Regions from separate parts of the Homo sapiens genome. Here regions 2 and 3 are each linked to region 1. Evidence: promoter capture Hi-C in human tissues and cell types (Jung and others, 2019). All regions are on one chromosome and are shown on one strand. Each heading gives the region's core, a stretch centred on a gene start or on the middle of the fragment in contact. The rest is flanking DNA. Distances are from core to core; before and after follow the strand shown. Region 1 holds the start of KSR2 (kinase suppressor of ras 2). Region 2 overlaps KSR2 (kinase suppressor of ras 2). Region 3 has its middle 13 kb from the start of RFC5.

Evidence for each region. The method cuts DNA at HindIII sites, captures the fragments that hold promoters and counts their contacts. A contact is called where the count stands out against the background at its distance.
Region 2: a contact is called between a fragment that was not itself captured here and the fragment with the promoter of KSR2 in region 1, in 1 of the 25 tissues and cell types used here (ovary).
Region 3: a fragment that was not itself captured here is called in contact with the fragment with the promoter of KSR2 in region 1 in 1 of the 25 tissues and cell types used here (mesendoderm cells).

The regions. Positions count from the first base shown.
Region 1 is chr12:117,966,656-117,970,654 of GRCh38, forward strand. KSR2 (kinase suppressor of ras 2) reads right to left here and starts at 2,335. Exons shown (of 20, transcript NM_173598.6): 1 at 1,421-2,335. The coding sequence starts at 1,600. RefSeq lists silencers at 2,348-2,617, 2,628-2,737. The HindIII fragment of the contact is 12,977 bases long and covers 1-3,999 here.
Region 2 is chr12:117,921,652-117,925,650 of GRCh38, forward strand. All of the region lies in intron 1 of KSR2 (kinase suppressor of ras 2), which reads right to left. Among named protein-coding and RNA genes, the nearest start is that of KSR2, 45 kb to the right of the region's middle. The HindIII fragment of the contact is 6,411 bases long and covers 1-3,999 here.
Region 3 is chr12:118,001,561-118,005,559 of GRCh38, forward strand. No RefSeq gene overlaps it. Among named protein-coding and RNA genes, the nearest start is that of RFC5, 13 kb to the right of the region's middle. RefSeq lists a silencer at 2,806-2,998. The HindIII fragment of the contact is 6,287 bases long and covers 1-3,999 here.

The sequences.
Region 1 (3,999 bases), core at 1,085-3,584:
CTCTCTTTCTCTCTCTCCCTCCCTCTCTTTCTCCCTCCCTCTCTCTCTCTCTCTTCTTTCAAAGGGATGACCTCCTGCATGTTGACATCCAGCCAAATTTAAAAATCACGGAAAAAAAAGAAATACCCAAAGCGAATCCGAGAAAAGCACCCATCCAGGCTACAACAGGGGCAGGAGGGCCACAAGATTCACTACGGACTGACGAGTTCAGGCCTTGGGAACTCATGTGCCAGGACCAAGATGAACGTCTCAGTACTGCTCATGCCCACTCCACCACAGAGGGAACCCCTGTTCTCTCAGCCCCACTGCCCCCACCCTCGGCGGATGCCAGCTAATGGAAGTTCCCAAATTTAATCAACCCATGCGTATAGCTGGGTTGGTTTGGGAGAAGGAAGTGAGCTGAACCCTTCAAACATTTTGAACAATGCAGATGTCCAGTGATCTCGTGGACACCAGGCATTTGGCATTTCCTAAGCCTCTTTAAACCTTCCTCCTTTGACCAAATGGCCTTCAGAAAAAAATAATTTCTGCCATCTTCTTTCTGAGTAACTTTGCAACCACCCTTCATCCCATCCCACTCCCCCAAAAAACTGTTTCAAACTCCCCCTCAAGTTCTGCCGGAGAGAATGTCACAAGAAGCCAAAGATAACTCCTCCTCCCCGACCCCTTTCCTCTTTCCTCACAGTCCCACTGAGATTCAGGAGTATTCTCCCACACCACCTATGTGTGCTGATTGAGGCATATTTTTTTTTCCCTTTTGTACGTTTTAGGCCTGCAACAGCTCACTGCATCAAAACGATTGGATTGGAAATGGGTAGTTCCATAGGAATTTTTTTTTTCATGCATCTTGCCTCCTGACATGTATATCACTGATTTAAAACAAAAAATCTAAGGAGCAAAAGGAGGGAGGGGAAGAAGGCCAAGAGAAGAAGAGGTCTACACTGACAGGCGGCCCCATTCTGTGAGCAAAAACCACCTTTTGACCACCTGCAGAATGCGCAAGGTCACGTGGGTTCTCTGCAGCTCCTTAATGTATTACCCGGCACACAAGCCCCCGTGGCATATAAACAAATCCACAAGCGGAAAAAAGAGAGAACTCCCTCCTCAGCGAGGAAGCGAATGACAACGGTAACAGCCGCAACAATAATAATAAATAAAGAATAACAATTACTACTACTACTACCACCACCCAGCCAAGCGCAGACGACAGCAGCACAGTAAAAGGATATCCAATGCAGGCTTTGCAAGGAGAGAAATCACAGAAAAGCAAACCGTGCCCACCTTGCTTGCCCACACCACCACCCCCAGCCCCCAATAAACAGAATCAGAGGGAAAGGGGACCGTGGGGAGAAAGGAGGGGGAAAGAAGGATTGCTTTTTTTTTTTTTTTTTTTTTTTTTTTTCCCGTAGGCAACACCTACCTCCAGGGTCCGGATTTCTTTTTGTGTGAGGTCGTTGGAGGTAGCACATTTGGTCCTAAGCCCTTCCAGGTTGGAGATGCTCAAGTCTATCATGTTTTGGACCAGTTCGCACTGCTGTAAGGCTTTTTGCAAACTCAGAGGCTGCTGCTCCTCGCTTTTCGTCATGTTTTCCTCATCCATCGCTTGCTCTGCAACCCCCTTCCCCTCCTCCTCCTCCCAGAGAGAAAAAAGAGGGGGGGGAGTAGAGGTAGTCTACCCTCCGCCTCTCCAACCACTGCGACTTCTCAACAATGTCTCATGAAGAAGAAATCCAACATCTCACACAGGGTTGAGGGGGTGGGAGTGGGAGGAGGGGACAAGAGCCAAAATTTATTATTTTATTTTGGGATATCAAGCGGACTCCATTAGAATGTCTCCTCTCTCTCTGAGTCTCTGGTCCCTGAAAAGGAGAGATGCTGTTTCTCAGAAGCAAACCAGGTGATGTGATGCTGTCTGTACACTTAGGGAGGAGGAGGAGGAGGAAAAAGAAGAGGAGAAGGAGGAGAGAGAGGAGGAGGGAGAGGAGGAGGAGGGAGAGGAGGAGGAGGAGAAGGAAAATAGCGCTCACTCTTTACACACCGGCTCCTTGAAGGACAAAATTATATATTTTTGGCTGGCTTGCTTTTATGTCAAAAAAAATCTGGTTTTCCCCCCTCCCAGTTGCAGGGACACGGCATGGTCCACGGTTTGGAGTGCTTTAGCGCGTTCTCAAGGTGCTGTCTGCATTGCTCCCGCGGCTGCGGCGGCTACTGCGGCTGGCTGCTGTCTCCTCCCCGCGCTGCTGCTGCTGCTGCTGCTGCCGCCGCCGGGCTCCGGGGGTGACGGTTGCTGCAATCGCTCCTGCCTCGCTCCACACCGACATCTTGCCTGTCAATCAAAGGGCGGGGGGGAGCGAGGGAGCGCCGGAGAGGGATGGAGACCAAGCGAGGGACCTGCAGGGGAGCGGGTTGGTGGAGAGGCGCCGTGCGCGCAGCCGCCCCAGCCGGGCCCCGGCCCCGGCGCGCCAGGGACCCGTCGGAGGAGGCGGAGGAGGAGCGCGCAGACTCGCGCACCTGGCCGGGGGGCGGGATTTCTAGGGGCTGCGGAGCTCGCGTGGCAAAGTGAAATTACTACCGGGAGTGCGTGCGAGCGAGCAAGCGAGCGATCGGCGGGCGGGGGCGCGGAGACAGCGCGCGCATCGGGCCCAGCCTGCTCCCGGGGGCGGCGGGGGAGGCCGGGAGTGTGCCCGAGCCTGGAGGCTGGGCGAGGGGGCGGGGAGAGGGATTTGGTGGCGGGGAGCGGGTGGGGGCCACTACTCCTGCACCGCTCTCGCGAGACCGGGCCGGAGTGCTGCTCAGCAGGTGCGCTCCGGCTGGGAGCAGGTGTGCGCCCAACTTTAAAACCCTCGGTGCGCGCCGGAGAGGCGTCGGCGTGAACCTGGGCACATCCCGTCTGTCTTTAGCTCGGGGGTGGTGTGTGTGTGTGTGTGTGTTTGCCTTTTTTGTTCGTTTGTCCTTTGGGTGTGTGTTTGTGTGTGTGTGCCTTTTTTGTTCGTTTGTCCTTTCTTGTTACTGGGGAAAAAATAAAGCGAACCTGATGATCTTCCGTGAATTTCAGGAAGCTGCCTCCTAGACTTGGTAGCCTGGCCCGCCCTGATGGCTTTCCATTTGGCGAGGAAAAGGGCCTTTGCCTTATTCTGAGTATTCCCATGTCCTACAAGTGTCTGTGTGGCCTGACCCCAGCATACCTAACTGACGTTATATCAGCAAACGATGGCTCCACAGTTAAGATGGTTTTTACCTTTTGAAATTTTTGGAAGCCTGGTGAGGTGGCTCATGCCTGTAATCCCCAGAACTTTGGGAGGCAGTCAGGAGGCTCGCTTGAGGCCAGGAGTTTGGGACCAACCTGGGCAACAACATAGCAAGACCCTGTCGCTACTAAAAATTCAAAAATTAAAAATGTAAATAAAATGGTTGGAAAAAAATGAAAATAACATTTTGTGACACGTGAAAGTTATGTGAAATTCACATCTCAGTGTCCACAAGTAAAGTTTTATTGGAGTACCACCACCCATCTGTTTATTGTCTGTGGTTACTCCTGCGTTGTAAAGCAGAGTTGAGTAGCTGCAGCTGAGACCGGTGGTTCACAACACCTGAAAGATTTACTGTCTGGCACTTTACAGAAAAGTTTGCTGACTCTTGATTAAATCTTTGTACTCTATGTCCACAGTGCTCAGAACATGCTTCACCCTAATCCTCTCCTGGTGGGTTTCTTCTTGTCACTGTTAACTCAAATATCATCTCAGAGAGGCCTCATCTCCCTAACCACCTTATCTAATAGTATTCCCAACACACATTGCCCAACAGATGTATTTAGAATGATTAGCAAAAGGCACCTCTTTCTTTAGGTGAACAGAGCCCTGTGCTGAGGACTGAGTAAGACGTGATACTCAGAACACATGGTATAATATGTCACTCTTAAATGAAGCCACTTGAAAAGCAGAGCGAACAGGAGCCAGTGGTGGCCACGTTGAATGACAACCTTTATTTTTAAGTTCTGGG
Region 2 (3,999 bases), core at 1,053-3,552, 45 kb before region 1:
GATGTTGATACTACCCCCTCAGAGCTGCTGTTAAGAACTAAATGCAATCAATGTAAAGCTCTTAGTGCCATGCTCAGCACATAATACACGCTCATTAAATGACAGCCATCATTACCAGTAACTCAGTCCCCTTGCATTGGGCTCACGTACCCCTTTTCCATCCCGGATAATATCAGAATGTACCCACGAGAAGATGCATAGCTAGTAAAGTGGTTTGACAAAAATAAAAAGAAGTAATCGGTAAATAGTAGATGCTCTTCTTACATATATAAATGCAAATCCCTGAAGAGTTTAGCAAATGTATGTTTGTGTGACAGCTATTTATGGAGGCTGTATACTTTTATTTGCCTAGAATTTGATGCACTAAATGTAAACAAAGCATGATGAAGACTCTAATAGAAGCAGTCCCCAGACAGAAGCCAGGGCTCTTTCCCAAGCTCTCTGGAAGGTTGGCTTCTCTGCAGGCGTGTTGATGCGGTATATTTAGGCTGTTAATCATACCCAGAAGCGTTCCCACCTATCTGAAGACAGGGCAAACCCAGCAAGTCTCAAATTAGCAACATCCTACAAAATTTTCATCAGCCAATCTAATGCAAATGCTTTAACTTCTTCCCAGAGAAATTCTGTGAGAAATTCTCCCTAACTGGCTAAAGTTCATGGCTCAAGATCAGCTATCAGGACAACATAATGAGCCCCTTGGTCAAAGCCTGCATGGCTGGAAAAGTGCCTGTCAATCAACTTTGGGGTAAAGGAAAGCACCGTTCACATATATTAGCAGAGTTCCCTATTTAAAGAAAATCTGGGTCGATCACATGGTGGGGTGAATAACAGTCATAAATAAAGCACTTGGGGACATTTTATATCAGGTTGCATTCATGTTAAATATTTCTAAGGACCCAGAACCAGTAGATTTGATAGATCTGATGACTCAGTAGATTTGACAGATCTGTGCCTGACGAGTGCTCTGCTGAGAAAGAACTACATTTCAAAAGAAGGGAAACACACCTAAGCCAAACACAAATATTTAGAGCTTTAAGACCCAAAGCAAAAAATATCCACTCTTCCTTGGGGATTCACTCATCCATCTACCACATACAAGGTGCACAACAGCAAGATCTTGCCCCTCATGGAGCTCACAATTGAGTGGAGAATGGAGAATAAAGAAAATAGTCCGTCCTCATTATTTGTGGATTATTCCATTTGGAGATTTGTCTACTCACTGAAATTTATTTGTAACCCCAATATCAATACACATGGTCTTTTCACGGTCATCTGGGGACATACGAACATACAGTGAAAAACATGAGCTGCCCGATGTACATGATGCCAGGTGAGATCCAGAAAGGTGACGCTCTACCTTACTTCATATTTTTGTACTTTTTTGGTGACTTCACTATTTAGAATGCCCCCGGTTAGTGATAAAGTGCTACCTAGTGTGTTCCTAAGCTCAAAAAGGCTGGAATGTGCCTTACAGAGAAAATGTGTGTGTTAGATAAGCTTCATTCAGGAATGAGTTATAGTGCTGTTGGCTATGAGCTAAATGTTAATGGATCAACTATCTATCATCTATCTATCTATCTATCTATATCTATCTATAAAATAAGGTGTCTTTAAACAGAAACACGTATAAAATGATCGGTTGGTAAATTTAGGGCCAAAGGCTTGCAGAAACCTAACCCTGTTATCTCCCCTGCAGATTCAATATTCGTTAACTCAGGATTCAGGAAAACTTTATAGAATATAACTGCCATGATGCCAGATGTAGTGGCTCATGCCTGTAATCCCAGCACTTTGGAAGGCCAAAGTGGGAGGACTGCTTGAGGCCAGGAGTTCAAGACCCCATCTCCACTAAAAATTTAAAAAATTAGCCAGACATGGTGGCACATGCCAGCAGTCCCAACTACTCAGGAGGCTGAGGTGGGAGGATCGCTTGAGCCCAGGAGGTCAAGGATACAGCGAGCTATGATCACACTACTGCACTCCACAGACTTTTGAGATACTGTCTTAAAATATATATGTGTGTGTGTGTGTGTGTATGTATATGTGTATGTGTATATATACGTATATATAACTGCCATGAATAATGAGAATTGACTGTAATCCAAATCTATAAACATAATGAAACAAACAACTAAGTAAAGAAGAAAACAGGGGTGTGCTGCTTTATTCAGTATTTGTAGTATTCTATGTTTTGTGTAACAAAGGAGTTGACATTAATATATATTTGCTTTTTTTTTTTTTTTGAGACAAGAGTTTCACGCTTGTTGCCCAGGCTGGAGTGCAATGGTGTGATCTCGGCTCACCACAACTTCCACTTCCGGGGTTCAAGTGAATCTCCTGCCTCAGCCTCCCGAGTAGCTGGGATTACAGGCATGCGCCACCACGCCTGGCTAATTTTGTATTCTTAGTAGAGACGGGGTTTCTCCATGTTGGTCAGGCTGGTCTCGAACTCCCGACCACAGGTGATCCTCCCACCTCGGCCTCCCCAAGTGCTAGGATTACAGGCGTGAGCCACTGCGCCCGGCCTATATTTGCTTTTTTAATAGAGGTTAAAACTTAAAACTGAAAAACTAAAATAAATCAATCTACTGTAGATATCAAGTTGGTGACATAACTATATAGAAAAAAAATTTAGGCCAGGCACGGTGGCTCATGCCTGTAATCCCAGCACTTTGGGAGGCTGAGGCGGGCGGATCATGAGGTCGGGAGTTTGAGACCAGCTTGGCCAACATGGTGAAACCCCGTCTCTACTAAAAAAAATACAAAAAAATTTAGCTGGGCATGGTGGCAGGCGCCTGTAATCCCAGCTACTCAGGAGGCTGAGGCAGGAGAATCACTTGAACCCGGGAAGCAGAGGTTGCAGTGAGCTGAGATCGTGTCATTGCACTCCAGCCTGGCTGACAAGAGTGAAGCTCCATCTCAAAAAAAAAAAAAAAAAAAAAAAAGAAAGAAAGAAAAGAAAGAAATACGGGCATGAAGGAAGAAGTTAAACTATGCCCCTAAGGAGGCATAAAAAATCTATAGTACAAATGACTCCGTTTCTTCAACAAATAAGTAATGTGGGGAAGAGGGAGGTGGAACTATGGAAGTTAAAAACTTAAGAGACATATGAACCAAATGCAATGTAAGAACCTGTATAGATCCCAATTCAAACAAGTCAACTGCAGCAAGACATTTTAAAGACCTGGAGATATTTGAACATGGACTGGATATTAAATGATATTGACAAATTAATGTTTTGTTTTATAAGCTGTGGTAGTAGCTTTCTGTAACATTATTTTAAAAGGCCTTACCTGTTTGAGATGCATACTGAAGTATTTACAGATAAAAATCTATGACCTCTGGGATTTGCGTCAAAACACTCCCACACACACACAAGTAGGACAGAAACAAATGAAACAAGATTGGCAAGACGTTGATTATTGTTGAATCTGGGTGGTAAGTACAAGGAAGTTTGTTATACTATATTTTCTTTCTTTTTTTTTTTTTTCAGACAGGGTCTCACTCTGTTGCCCAGGCTGGAGTGCAGTGGTTTGATCTTGGCTCACTGCATCCTCCACCTCCCAGGCTCAAGCAGTCCTCCCACCTCAGCCTCCTAAGTAGCTGGAACTATAGGCTCACGCCACCATGCCCAGCTAAGTTTTGTATTTTTAGTGGAGATGGGGTTTCACCACGTTGCCCAGGCTGGTCTCGAACTCCTGGCCTCAAGCAGTCCGCCCACCTCAGCCTCCCAAACTGCTGAGATTATAGGCATAAGCCACCACGTCCAGCTTATATTTTCTTTTATATTTAAATTTTCCATTTAAGAAAACTTTTTAAATAGTCTCTTACTGACCTTACTCTTTAAAGGAGAAGATCATTAATGCTGACAGTTTTTAATCAATTACTGAGTTGTTCACTATTATTTTAATAGACAGTGGTATTTTACATAATAATAATTATAGTAATGACAGCAGCAATGGCTATTAATATTATTACTTACTGCATGTCTGATATAAG
Region 3 (3,999 bases), core at 433-2,932, 34 kb after region 1:
CCTCCTCCCGCCTTGGCCTCCCAAAGTGCTAGGATTACAGGCGTGAGCCACCATGCCCAGCCTTGTTTTCTCATTCTCATAATACCATATTGCAGACTTGGAATAACTTTCTAATCCTACTAATTGTTTTTAAAGAAAAAACACGATTTTGATTTCGCAAATTTTATCACACCAAGTTCCCCACATTTGGGTACACCAAGATCTTACCATTGAAACCCTTCCTGGTGTTAAGCAGATGGATAATTTTGAAATATGTATGTATGGAATTAAAGTTCTGTGACTATCCAAATATGACAACTTCTTCCATGGCATTTGGAATTATGCAATAGAAAATGTTTTCAGTGATGCCCTTTTATGTGTTAATTTTGCCAAATTTATTCTCAATTATAATTTCAAATCACCTGAGCAACAGAAGAAAACTAGAAGTTGTATCAAAACCAAGAACTTATTTGAGTTTAGCATTAAGGACAGATTTTTAATTAATTGGCTCAAACTGACGATAACCCATATTCAACAAGCCAGTTCTGGTTGACATTTCCCAAAATATGACATATTGAATATGTTATTTTTGTCCAATATCTCTTAAATTAAGAAAAAAACTAAAGCAGAGGATATAAAATGATTTACTCTCATGTGACTCAGGAAACTTTAGTTACTCTTTTAAGAAAGAAATTTGCTTTTGTTAAAATTTGTACTTTAAATGATCTTTAAATTTCAAGTCCTAATAAACAAAAACTAGCTGAGTGTGGTGATATGTGCCTGTAGTCCCAGCTACTAGAGAGGCTGAGGTGGGAGGATGGAGCAAGACTGGGGGATGGTGCCACCACTGCACTCCAGCCTGGGCAACAGAGCAAGACCCTGTCACAAAACAAAACAAAACAAGAAAAACAAATGTTTTTCAAGCCTTTTTCATGACACAATTGTCCAATCTTCATATTAGTGAATGTGCCAGATATTTTAATTTCCTGCAGATCTGCCAAGTTTCTTCAGTTCAGAGCAAGACTTACTCTAAGGTGCTTCTCATTTAAAAGAATAATCTTAAAGCATTTTAAAAAATATATTTTGATAGTCTATATTTGAACCACAAAAAATATCTTCAAGCTTAAAAATTCTCCTCCATATTGACTTGGGGCAAACTTGGTGCCTCAATTTTGTTTTCTTTTCTTTAGTATTATTATTATTATTATTATTATTATTATTATTATTATTATTATTCTAATAGAGATGAAATTTTGCCTTGTGGCCCAGGCTGGTCTTGAACTCCTGGGCTCAAGCAATTCACCTGCATTGGCCTCCCAAAATCTGGGATTACAGGTATGCAGCACCATGCCTGGCCCAATTTTCTTTTCTTTTCTTTTTTTTTTGAGAGGGAATCTTGCTCTGTCACCCAGGCTGGAGTGCAATGGTATGATCTCAGCTCACTGCAACCTTCACCTCCTGGGTTTCAGTGATTCTCCTGCTGCAGCCTCCCGAGTAGCTGGGATTACAGGCATGTGCCACCACGCCCGGCTAATTTTTGTATTTTTAGTAGAGGTGGGGTTTCACCATGTTGGCCAGACTGGTCTCGAACTCCTGACCTCAGGTAATCTGCCTGCCTTGGCCTCCCAAAGTGCTGGGATTGCAGGCATTAGCTACTGCGGCCTGGCCCAATTTTCAATGCTTACTCTCTTGCTGTAATTTTCAGCATTGCATTTATTTAAAATGTACATTTTAGGGGCCACGTGTGATGGCTCATGCCTGTAATCCCAGCACTTTGGGAGGCTGAGGCGGGGGGGATCACTTGAGGTCAGTAGTTCAAGACCAGCCTGGCCAACACGTTGAAACCCCATCTCTACTGATAAATACAAAAATTAGCCAGGTGTGGTGGTGCACATTTGTAATCCCAGCTACTTGGGAGGCTGAGGCAGGAGGATCGCTTGAACCTGGGAGACAGAGGTTACGGTGAGCCAAGATTGCACCATTGCACTCCAGCCTGGATGACAGAGACAGACTCCATCTCAAAAAAATAAAAATTAAAAATTAAAATATGCACTTTAAAAATCACATTGCCTGGCCAGGTGCAGTGGCTCACAACTGTAATGCCAGCACTTTGGGAGGCTGAGGCAGGTGGATCTCTTGAGCCCAGGAGTTCAAGACCAGCCTGGGCAATATGGTGAAACCCTGTCTCTACAAAAAATACCAAAATATTAGCCGGGCATGGTGGCATGTACCTGTGGTCCCAGTTACTCGAGAGGCTGAGGTGAAAGGATTGCTTGAGGCCAGGAGGCAGAGGCTACAGTGAGCTGAAATAGAGCCACTGCACTCCAGCCTGGACAAGAGTGATACCCTGTCAAAAAAAAAAAAAGCCATTAAACTTGGGCCAAATGCTTTGAAAGAGTGAGTTTAGAGGAACTGGAGGAATGGGATAAAATGTCTATAAACAGCCATTCTTTGTGTAGCATCTACTATATAACAAAATGTTGTGTAACTCTGCCATGCAACATAAATAATGCTACTGATTTGCATTTTCTTATTACTTGGCATTCTCAAATGAATTCTACAGTCTTTTGCCAATATTAAGGTCTATTTCTCACTTCCTTACATCCCCAGGGTCCCTAGTATGATGGCAGAGGGGCAATAAACTGTCCCCTTGTTGTGCACACAGAGCTTACAATAGGTATGCACCCAATTGCTTTTTCATCTCTGCATTTTCTTTTTTAATTTACTTGCTTTTTTTTTTTTTTTTTGAGATGGAGTCTCACTCTGTCACCCAGGCTGGGGTGCAATGGCATGATTTTGGCTCACTGCAACCTCTGCCTCCCAGGTTCCAGTGATTCTTCCGCCCCAGCCTCCTGAGTAGCTGGGATTACAGGCACCCGCCATCATGCCTGGCTAATTTTTTGTATTTTTGTAGAGACAGGGTTTCACCACGTTGGCCAGGCTGGTCTTGAACTCCTGACCTCAGGTGATCCGCCTGCCTTGGCCTCCCAAAGTGCTGGGATTACAGGCGTGAGCCACCGTGCCCAGCCCATCTCCGCATTTTTAATGTCACAAACCCAAAAGCTGTGTGGTCTCAGGCTGGACCACTGCCAAACATGGCTAGGATAATGTAAGTACTTTGACCACATCCTTATTAACACCTTTTTATCTTTCTCAGTCCCCACGACTTTGGGGTTTCTAGCCTAGGGAAATTACACGGGATTCCATGTAGGGAGAAAAAGGGAAAATTTCAAAATAAATCTTTTTTAAATTTTACCAGCCTAGAGGGACTATTATTAGTGTGACAGAATAACATGGTTGAGAAATTAACTAGACTTATTAATATTTACTGCTGCAGACTCAATACAAAAGACTAAGGAGGATTTCTTCCCCACAAGCGATTAAGCCTTAGAGTTCTGGAATATTGGGCTTGCCTCGTCCAGGGGAACTTGAAAGCCTAGAAACTTTGGGACTTAAATTTGAATTGTCAAAACGCCAGGCCCTTCAAGGGGAGGAGGTGAGAGTGTTGTATGAGAGCAGAGTGGCCCAAGTCCCTGAAGAATTCACAGTGAGGGTGTAGAACAGGCTTGAGAGGCAGGACAGTGGGATAGAGATATCAAGTTGGTGCAAAAGTAATTGTGGTTTTTGCCAATGGCAAAAACTTGATACAATGCAGTGGTATCTGGGGCTTGGCAACTGAAGTGTGCTTACCAATTGCCTGGAGACCTTGTTACAATGGAGATTTGGATTCAGGAGGTCAGGAGTGGAGCCAGAGACTGCACTTCTAAGAAGCTCCCAGGTTGTGTGAAGGCTGCTGCTCCCTGGACCTTGCTTTGAGTAACAAGAGTGCAGATCACATCCTGTCTTCATAGATTAATACTTCTCTTGGAGGAAAAGGAGGGGAGAGGTGATAAGAAGGACTTTGAAGGACGAGCACAGGGAAGTTTAAACCCCAAACTCTTGTGGCACTGGGTGCAATGAAAAATGTTCTGGGTGGCTAAGTTGTACACTGAGAAAACCAACACTATTACCCACAGATCT